Linked DNA regions of Homo sapiens: region 1 is linked to region 2. Evidence: promoter capture Hi-C in human tissues and cell types (Jung and others, 2019). All regions are on one chromosome and are shown on one strand. Each heading gives the region's core, a stretch centred on a gene start or on the middle of the fragment in contact. The rest is flanking DNA. Distances are from core to core; before and after follow the strand shown. Region 1 overlaps HMG20A (high mobility group 20A). Region 2 holds the start of ETFA (electron transfer flavoprotein subunit alpha).

Evidence for each region. Contacts are between HindIII fragments. The study calls those that stand out against the background at their distance.
Region 1: a fragment that was not itself captured here is called in contact with the fragment with the promoter of ETFA in region 2 in 1 of the 25 tissues and cell types used here (spleen).

The regions. Positions count from the first base shown.
Region 1 is chr15:77,422,715-77,427,371 of GRCh38, forward strand. All of the region lies in intron 1 of HMG20A (high mobility group 20A), which reads left to right. Among named protein-coding and RNA genes, the nearest start is that of HMG20A, 4.2 kb to the left of the region's middle. The HindIII fragment of the contact is 3,083 bases long and covers 12-3,094 here.
Region 2 is chr15:76,309,468-76,314,124 of GRCh38, forward strand. It overlaps ETFA (electron transfer flavoprotein subunit alpha), which reads right to left and starts at 2,002. Exons shown (of 12, transcript NM_000126.4): 1 at 1,883-2,002. The coding sequence starts at 1,921. RefSeq lists enhancers at 1,254-1,754, 1,755-2,255, 2,465-2,514, 2,575-2,624 and a cis regulatory region at 4,186-4,607. The HindIII fragment of the contact is 24,969 bases long and covers 1-4,657 here.

The DNA.
Region 1 (4,657 bases), core at 303-2,802, 1.1 Mb after region 2:
CTGTGGTCACTTTTAAAAAAGAATCTAAGACCCTAAAATCAAGTATGATTTATATTTTGAAAGACCACACGATTGCTGCAGTAGTTGACTGAAAAAGCAAGACAAAACATTGTCTTTGTGGTTATTAATAGGTTAGGAACATGTAGACTGCCCGAAGTAAGAATTAATTGATTAAAGAAGAAGTGTTCACTATCTTCTATATTAATGTAATATAGAAGAAAATATAATATGGTCACCCTGACAAATGAAACTGTAGTGTTAGGAATTATTGAAGTATGGAAAGATTGTAGAACTAAATGAAAAAAATAGAGAATATCATGTTAAAATACTGATTGAGATAGAGTAATATTGCCTTTTGGAAACTGTCTTTATTAAATTGGTCTTTATGGTACTCCATGGAAGAAATACAGTATAATAGAAATAAGAAAAATTGTTGCAGCTGAAAGACTTGAGCAGCTTGAAGAACTATCTGTTTAGAAGAAAGCAATATATAAAATACCTATCTGAAAGAAGGTATTTTGTGATAAGTGGCAGTTATTCATTGGTTCCATCAAAGAAGAAATATTAGAAAAGCTTGTGAAAAATAGAGAGAGAAGGTCCATAGAACCTGTTTTTATTCTTTTTAAAAATGTTTCTTTAGAGAGGCTTGCTGTCCTCCAAAGGTTTTTTTTTCTTAATGCCCTTTGTGCAGTTTTCTTTGCATGTTTAATAGAAATATAGTATCAAAATTTAAAGAATTAATATTTTTGTACATGTACTGTTACTTCAAGTTAATGAATTTGAGATTTCATTCCATTACTTGCCATATATGTAACAAAGAAAGTGTCAAATCTTTTTTTCAAATACTTGGATTAGATAACCATTTTCTTTTCCAAAGACAGTCATTGGATACACTGCTCACAGCAGTTTGAAATATTAAAACCGTAGGTCACAATTCTGGATTCCATCTGACTGAAATTAGATTATCCACAGAGATGTTATACATAATACAGAAGTGTCTTTTCATTCTTTCATCTACTTTACTTTGTAAAATCAGGCTAATGTTTTGCAACTGTTGCTTTCCTTGTTTGTCGTTTTGGTGGTGGTTTGTTTTTGTTGTTGTTTTTGCCGTAGGGTTGAGGATTAAAGAAAGTATCTTAAGAACCTGAATGGTTTTTCACCTTACTGCTTTGCTGTCTCTATTTCATAGCCTTCACAGGTATTCAAATGAGAATACCCTTTACGTGACTTTTCATTATTTAAGCAAAAGTTTAGAGTGTCTACTATATGCCAGTCACTGTTCTCAGGACTTTGAATACAGTAAATACGGCCAAATATTCATATTCTACTGTAGTTTACTCTCTAATTTACAAATTAAAACTAGAATTTTGCTCCCTTGGTATTCCTAAATAAGATCTATGTTATGATCGTTGTTCAGACTGGGTAAAGAAGCAGCCCTAAACTTGATCTCTCCTGGTCTTAATCTCTAAGCCATTCTAAACCCAGATTTGAATGTTTCAGCCTAATTTTTCTCCAGACCATAGAAGCCCCTGTGTTAAATATGCAGTCCCTTTCATTGATACATGTATCATTTTCCTACCATTCTAGCTTCTTTTGTATTGTGAAAACAAATGAGAGTGAACAGTGGGGAAAATATGGGATCAGATAGGCCCAAATTCAGCACTGGTCTCTGCATTTTACTGGCTGAGCTTACTAGCTTGGTAACCATGAGCAATTTATTTGACCTCCCTAAGCCTCAGTTTTCCTAAATCCAAATGGGGTTGTTTGGTGGAATCAGAATGTTGTATGTAAATCTCCTGGTCCAATGCCTGGTGCCAGAAGCTTCATTAATGCAATTATCTTACCCCCAATCTTGCTTCTGCTACTCTGGCTATTGTGATTTGCCCACATGTCTGTTTTAAGCTTTACATTTTCCCCACAGTATGGGATGCAGTGGTAGACTGACTGAGCTTCAGCCTTGTCCCCCTATCAGCATGCTCACACAGTTGTCAAGATTTAATTTTTTTTCCTTGTGGGAAGGAGAAATCACTAATTTCCATGATTAGAAGATATACAAAATAGAAAAGTTTCAAGAAAAGGAATCTTAATCTTGGCACAAATCACTAAGGTAATTTGAATTGTTACAGGCAGACTTTCAACTCATTCTCCTAAACTTATTTAAATACGAAAACCAAAAATGACCTTTCACACTATGATCATACCTCACATTATTCATCTACACATCCAAACGGGATCGCCTCTGGGGGGAAAAAAATCTGTACTGCACCCAGCATTAATATTTTTTTTTGCTCATGCTATTTTCTGCCTGAAACACTCTTTTTTCCTAGGAATCCCCATCTATCAAAATGCCACTTTCTTTGAGGTCGTTTCTCAAGTACCACATTTAAGAAATATTTTCTGATATCCATCCTCTTCTACACTCTCCCAAACTGTACACGTTCTGTCCATTAACTCTCCAGAGCATTATACCTTTCTTACAGCACTTACTGTCCAGTGCTCCTCTTGTTTGTTTTTATTGCGTTGTTGTAGGTAGAGTTTATGCCTTCCCTAAAAGGCTGCAGACTAGGTCTTATTCCACTCTGTGCTGTCATACCTGGCACAAGACCATTCACATCATAGGTATTCAGTAAATATTTGTGGACGTGAGCTGGCTCTTGGAGTATGACAAAACTGATCAATAACTTTTGTCCACAATTATGCCCAGCATCAGCACAATGGCTATCATACATTAGACACTCAAATATCTATAAAATGAAAGAGTGAATAGTAAGTCATCATTCTCTCATTTGGGAGCTTCTTAGGGTGTCAGATAAGCATATATTAAGCACCTCCTATATAACTGGAGCTGTAAGAACTGATCTCTGCTCCTCAATTTAATTGGAAAAAAGTAAATTGTTACTAATATCTGCAGACTTTGAAGATGGTAGGTGTTTGAGTAGGGATGGCATGGAGAGCTTAATATAGAATTGTTTGCATTGTGAGAGATACCCTCTGCTACCTGAACTCAGAAACCAAATAGATTTTTATATCAAATATTTGGACACTTAACTTGTATTTCCACTCCTAGGTATATATCCAAGAGAACTTAAAACATGTTCACACAAAAACTTGCACACAAATATTTGTAGCAGCCTTATTTGTAAAAGGCAAACTCAAATGTCCATTAATTATTGGATGACTAAACAAAATGCGATATAGCCATACAATGGAATATTATTCAGCAACAAAGAGAAACAAAGTAGCAATACCTGCTGTAACATGGATAAAACTTGAAAATATTAAAGTGAAAGAAGTCACATACAAAAGGCAACCTATTATGTGATTCCATTTATTTAAGATGTCTAGATTAGGCAAAACTAATAGAGACAGAAAGTACATTAGTGGATGGGAATGGGAGTGACTGCTAGTATGGAGTTTCCTTTGGAAGTGATGAAAATGTGCCAGAATTAGATAGTGGTGGTGGTTGCATAACCTTATATACTAAAATATCTTGTATACTAATATACAGTTGACACCTGAACAATGAGGGGGTTCGGGGTGCTAACCCCTGTGTTGTCAAAAATCCATGTATAACTTCTGACTCCCCAAAAAGTTAACTACGTAAATAGCTTACTGCTGACTGGAAGCCTTACCAATAGCATAAATAGTTGATTAACACATGTTTTATATGTTACATGTACTATGTACTGTATTCTTACAATAAGCTAGAGAAAGAAAATGTTACTAAGAAAATGATAAGGAAGAAAAAATATGTTTACTATTTATTATTCGTTAAGTGGAAGTGGATTATCATAAAGGTATTCATCCTTGTCATCTTCACATTGAGTAGGCTGAGAAGGAGGAAGAGGAAAGGTTGGTCTTACTGTCTCAAGTGGTGGAGGCAGAAGAAAATCAGCATATAAGTAGACTCATGCAGTTCAACCCATGTTGTTCAAGGGTCAACTGTACAAAAAAAATCCTGAAATATACACTAAAGGGGTCAGTTTTATGGTATGTGAATTATATCTAAAAGAGAGAGATACTTAGACTTGAAGAATAGAGAATTTTGAATGGAGCCAGAAGAAAGAAGCAAGAGGTGTGAAAGCAAGGAAATGATCATTCTTTCTCAGATCCTAGAGAGAAATATAAGCAGCTAGGTACAGGGCTAAAGGTATGTTAAGGATCAGGTGAGGATGGATATGAGGATAGCTTCTGGGTTTTTGTCTTAATGTAGCAGGGATTTTGGTAAATACTTAGACTACAGAGGTATTAACAAAGGAGAAAAACATCTTATGACCTTGAAGGAAGCTTCAGATTTCTTCTTGATTAGGTCAAGGATGTGGTATATGGTCTTTTTGGTTTCTGTGTTACGGTCAGCTGAGTTTAAAGAGTGGGAGTATTCTAAGGTAAGGAGTCTAGTAGCAATCAAAACAAAGTTACTGGGGAAGATGGGAGAATAGAGACTAGACAAAGATGTTAGAATTTGATTCTAAAGCTCTCCTCAGGTAATAAAAATAGATAAATCTTAATGAGAAGGAACCAAGGGCAGTGATTTGGAGAAGTCAGTACAAATAAAGGTATTCATTTGAAGAAATATTTGAGTGCCTTTTATGTGCCAGGCACTATTAAATAAAACTATAGCTATTTTCCTTATTTGACTTTTTTTCTGAAGATAAAA
Region 2 (4,657 bases), core at 752-3,251:
AAACAAAAAAAACAGCTATTCTACTTAGCTTGACTTCAAATTTTAAAAATAAGTCAAGGTCAAAGTCTTTGGCAAACCACAATGAATATCTGGAAGTAATGTCTATACACATTAGCCAACGATGTGGATAGTAAAAATTACTTAATCATTCCATTTTTTTCTGTTAGCTCTACAAAATTACTGAGTCCTAAATTCCATCCCCCACCACAATTATAATTTCACTTAGGCCAGACTTGTAATCTGTCCACAAAACTGTTTTCCAACTGCTGCATAGAGCAGCATTCTTCTGGCTCAGGTTCCTGGAATTTCCCCAAATTCATGATTTTCACTTGTTTATGTCTAGATCCCCAACCGGGAGAAAACATGTCCTGAGGGGAAGACAGGACACTAACCTGAAAGACATGGGTTTGAACTCTTTAGGGGAGGGGAGGGTCAGAACTTTTTATTAAACAAGGAATACGCACAAGAAAAAAGATGTCTAAGGCCAGGTGCGGTAGCTCAGGCCTGTAATTCCAGGACTTTGGGAGGCCGAGGCAGGTGGATCACTTGAGGACAAGAGTTCGAGACCAGCCTGGGTAACATGGGGAAACCCCGTCTCTACAAAAAAAAAAAAAAAAAAAAAAAAAAAATTAGCCAGGCGTGATGATGCGCACCTGTGATCCCAGCTTCTCGGGAAGCTGAGGTGGGAGAATCGCTTGAACCTGGGAGGCGACGGTTGCAGTGAGCCCATATCGTGCCACTGCACTCCACTCCAGCATGGGAAACAGAGCCAGACCTTGTCTCTTAAACAAACAAACAAACAAACAAACAAAAGTCTAATGTCTACAGACATCTAGAAAGAGCTCCAGCTATGCCTCAGAGAGAAAAATCCCAGGAGTGGATGGGAAAATATCCATGCCCAGAAAAAAAAAAAAAAAAAAAAAAAGGAGAAAAGGTACAAACCATCAGGTAAGTTTCTGACCCAAGTTTACCAATCTTGTTTCTCATTTCACCTAAATGTAAACTAGGAAAACTACACAATCCACAATATAAATTATTGTTACTTGACTTGTGACTGGTCAGTCTCCAAATACTCCTTTCCCACAGCATGAGAAGGAAAATATGTTTCCTATCAGTCCTTCTCACAACAGAAGAGAGAAATGTGGTTTGTCACTAATGAAACACTGAAAATGTACCACTGTCACCAGTTAACCTAATCTACAATCTGCTGGTTAAAAGCAGGTCAGCCTGAAGCATATAAAAAGACGTCTGCCTTTCAAAACTGGCTAAAGCTGTCAAATCGGATCGCAGGTTTTACAAATACAATCACCTAAATTCAGCCCTGCTCCATAAACCAGAAAGCAGAACCAGCTTCCATAACTGGCCACGCAGCCTCCCACCCCACCCCACCCCCGCCCTTGACAGTGAGTGGGTCGGAGTAGCCACGATGCGCCCAAAGTGTTTAATTCTTCCAGAAATGCCGGCCTCCGGGAGGAATCTAGGTTTGAAACTTTCCCCAACAGGGCATTCCCCGGTGACATTTTGCTCCCTCGGGTGTGGAGCAAGTGTGGAGGACCTGGCGGCCCGAAAGTGCCCAGAGTGACCGACAAAGGTGGGAAACGGCAGGGCAGAGAGTGGGCCAGAAGAAGGGGCAGCAGACGCGCAAATTCACATCATTCGGGGTCACCCTGACCCCAAACCTCTGACTTCTGCCCCGAACTGGCGTTCCGCAGGGAGTCCAGGGTAGGCCCCAGAACTTTGGACCCAAGTCCCAGGCGGGGACCGGCCTGCGGGCGCGAGGGCTGGTCGAATCTGAGGGGGCCAGTGATCTTTGCAAGACCCCATAGGGACGGCGGGTTGACGGGGGGCCGTCCCTGGGTTCGCCTTCCCAGTCCGGACTCACCGCCCGCCGGAGCTGCCCCGGAGCCGCCGCTCGGAACATGGTCTCCGCTTCCGCCGCAACCTCGGCCTTACAGCAGCCCCGTGCCCGGCCAACTGGCGCCGCCTCAGCCAGTCACCTAATGCTCGCGAGACGCGCGAACGAGATAAGACGCCCTAGGCCGGGAGCACGAGCCCGCGGTTTCCGCCTGCCCATTGGGCGGCTGCGCAGCCAATAGACGGCGGGAAGTTAGGGGCTAGACTGGGAAGTGGGGCAAAGGTGAGGCTATTCCCCGGGGACCTTCGAGTAAGCCCGGGCCGCGGAGCGGCAGAGACAAAGCTGGCCACCCGCTGATGACCGAGCTCAGACTGTACTGTCTCACAGCCCCGCAATGGTCAGCACTGCTAGAGTGAACTTCAAAACTGAGCTGACCTCGGGGTAAGGTACGAGTGGAGCCTTGCCAATTCCAATTAGATACCTTTCCTATATGCCCCTATTTCCCCCTGTATTTCCCCATGGTAGCAATTGTCACATGGGTTGTAATAACCTAAGTACTTGTCTGTGTCACCCATCTGACTGAAGATCTGTAAGGGCAGAAAGTATGCCCTTTTTTTTTTTTTTTTTTTTGAGAGAGAGAGAGTCTCCCTCTGTCACCCTGGCTGGAGTGCAGTGGCGCGAGCTCAGCTCACTGAAAGCTCCGCCTCCCGGGTTCACTCCATTCTTCTGCCTCAGCCTCCCGAGTAGCTGGGACTACAGGCGCCCGCCACCACGCCCAGCTAATTTTTTTGTATTTTTAGTAGAGACGGGGTTTCACAGTGTTAGGCAGGATGGTCTCGATCTCCTGACCTCGTGATCCGCCCGCCTCGGACTCCCAAAGTGCTGGGATTACAGGCGTGAGCCACCGCGCCCGGCCAGTATGCCCTACTTTTAAATTTTGTGTCTACCTGCAACACCTAGCACAATGCCTGGTCCATACTAGGCATTCAATCAGTATGTGTTGAATGAATAAGCAAATGAATAAATGACTGCTAATGAGTCTGGACTTTAACACGAAATTTTTAAGAGGGAAGTGGTATGTTCAGAAATTGTCTCAATTCCCAATTCAGCAACAACCTACCTTTCCAATGTTATCTAGTCTATCAACAAATCCCGTTGACTCTACCTTCAAAAGATAACCAGAATCCAGCAATATCCTCCAACACCCCTTTGCTCCTCTGCTGGTATCACCTTCACTCAGGACCCTGTCCTCTCTCGCCTGGATCATTGCAAAGCCTCCTAACTGGTCTTTCTGTTTCTGCCCATGTTTCCAGAAGCCTCTTCTCCAAACTGATGGACTGATCATGACCTCTGCTCAAAGCCCTATGGTGGCTCCCTCTCCTCCCACTGCCCTCTTCTCTCACTGTTCCCCAGATACATAGGCCTTCTTGAGCACACAAGCCTGCTCCTCTCAGAGTTTTGCACTCTGGCTCTTCCCTCTGCCTGAAATGGCCTTCTCTTGTTACCCGCGTGGCGTACTTCCTCACTTCATTCAGGTCTCTGCTCAAAAAACACATTTGCAGAAAGGCCGGCCTTAGCCTCTCCACCTAAAATAGCACCCATGCCACTCCCAGACGCCCTATCACCTTGTTTGATTTTTTTTCTTGGCATTTATCACTGCCTAACAGGATGCACATGTTTGTTTATTGCTGATCTCACTGCATTGGAGTGTAAATTCCCTGAAGCAAGAGCTTTGTCTGAACTAACAAGCACTCTAAGGGCCTTGCGCTTTTGCTCTTCCCTCTGTCTGAAATTCCCTTCCCCATCTGACAGCCCTCTTTAAAACCCAGATCAAGTGACAATTCTTTTGTTCTGTTTAAGACAAGGTCTCACTCTGTTTCCCAGGCTGGAGTGCGGTGGTGCCATCACAGCTCACTGCAGTCTCGAACTCCTGGGATCAAGCAATCTTCCTGCCTCAGCCTCCCAAGTAGCTGGGACTACAGTCATGTGCCACCATGCCCAGCTATTTTTTTTTGTAGGGGCAGGGTTACCCAGGGCTGGTCTCGAACTCCTGGCCTCAAGTGATCTTCCCACCTTGGCCTCTCAAAGTACTGGGATTACAGACATGAGCCACCACGCCTGGCCCAAGTGACATTTCTTTTGTAAGCTCTTTCTCAATTCTGCAGGATGAATTAATCCTTTCCTCTTCTTCACTCTTGTAGCTCTATGAACAAGGAGGTGAGGACCCATCTTAAACTTAAGTTGCACCCACTTCGAACACGTCTGAACTCATGTTGCCGACAGAGCTGTGGACCCCTGTCCCCCAGTCAATCTGCCTGTGGGAGGGGCAATTTAGTATTCCATGTCTCACTGCATTTACCTCCTAACCAGTCCCACACTGGACTAGAATCTGAGACCTATGGGAGTGGAAGGAAGAGGGAAGGGTACTTTTAGTAAAAACAGAAAAGGATATTTTACTAAAAACCATATAAAAAACTGGGATACAAACTAACCTCCTTCCCTACCTCCCCACCCATGACAAAGCGAAATACAAGGGGAGAGCGGCTGCCCCGCCCTGCCCCCACTGGGCAGATTCAACAGCTCCCAGGCTTGGGCAAATCAGCAGCAGCTGTTCACCCCAGAGTCTCGTTGCCCCTGGGGGTTCCTGGTGGAGCAGTTCAGAGCAGAGGGAGAGGCTAAAAATGGGCAAAGTCTGTGACACCTGACCAGACCTGTTCTGATCACACATGAAACGCCCCCTGAGGCTTTGGGATGTATCAGGGTTCTACAATCACAACCAGGTTATGTACCACAGAAATGTGT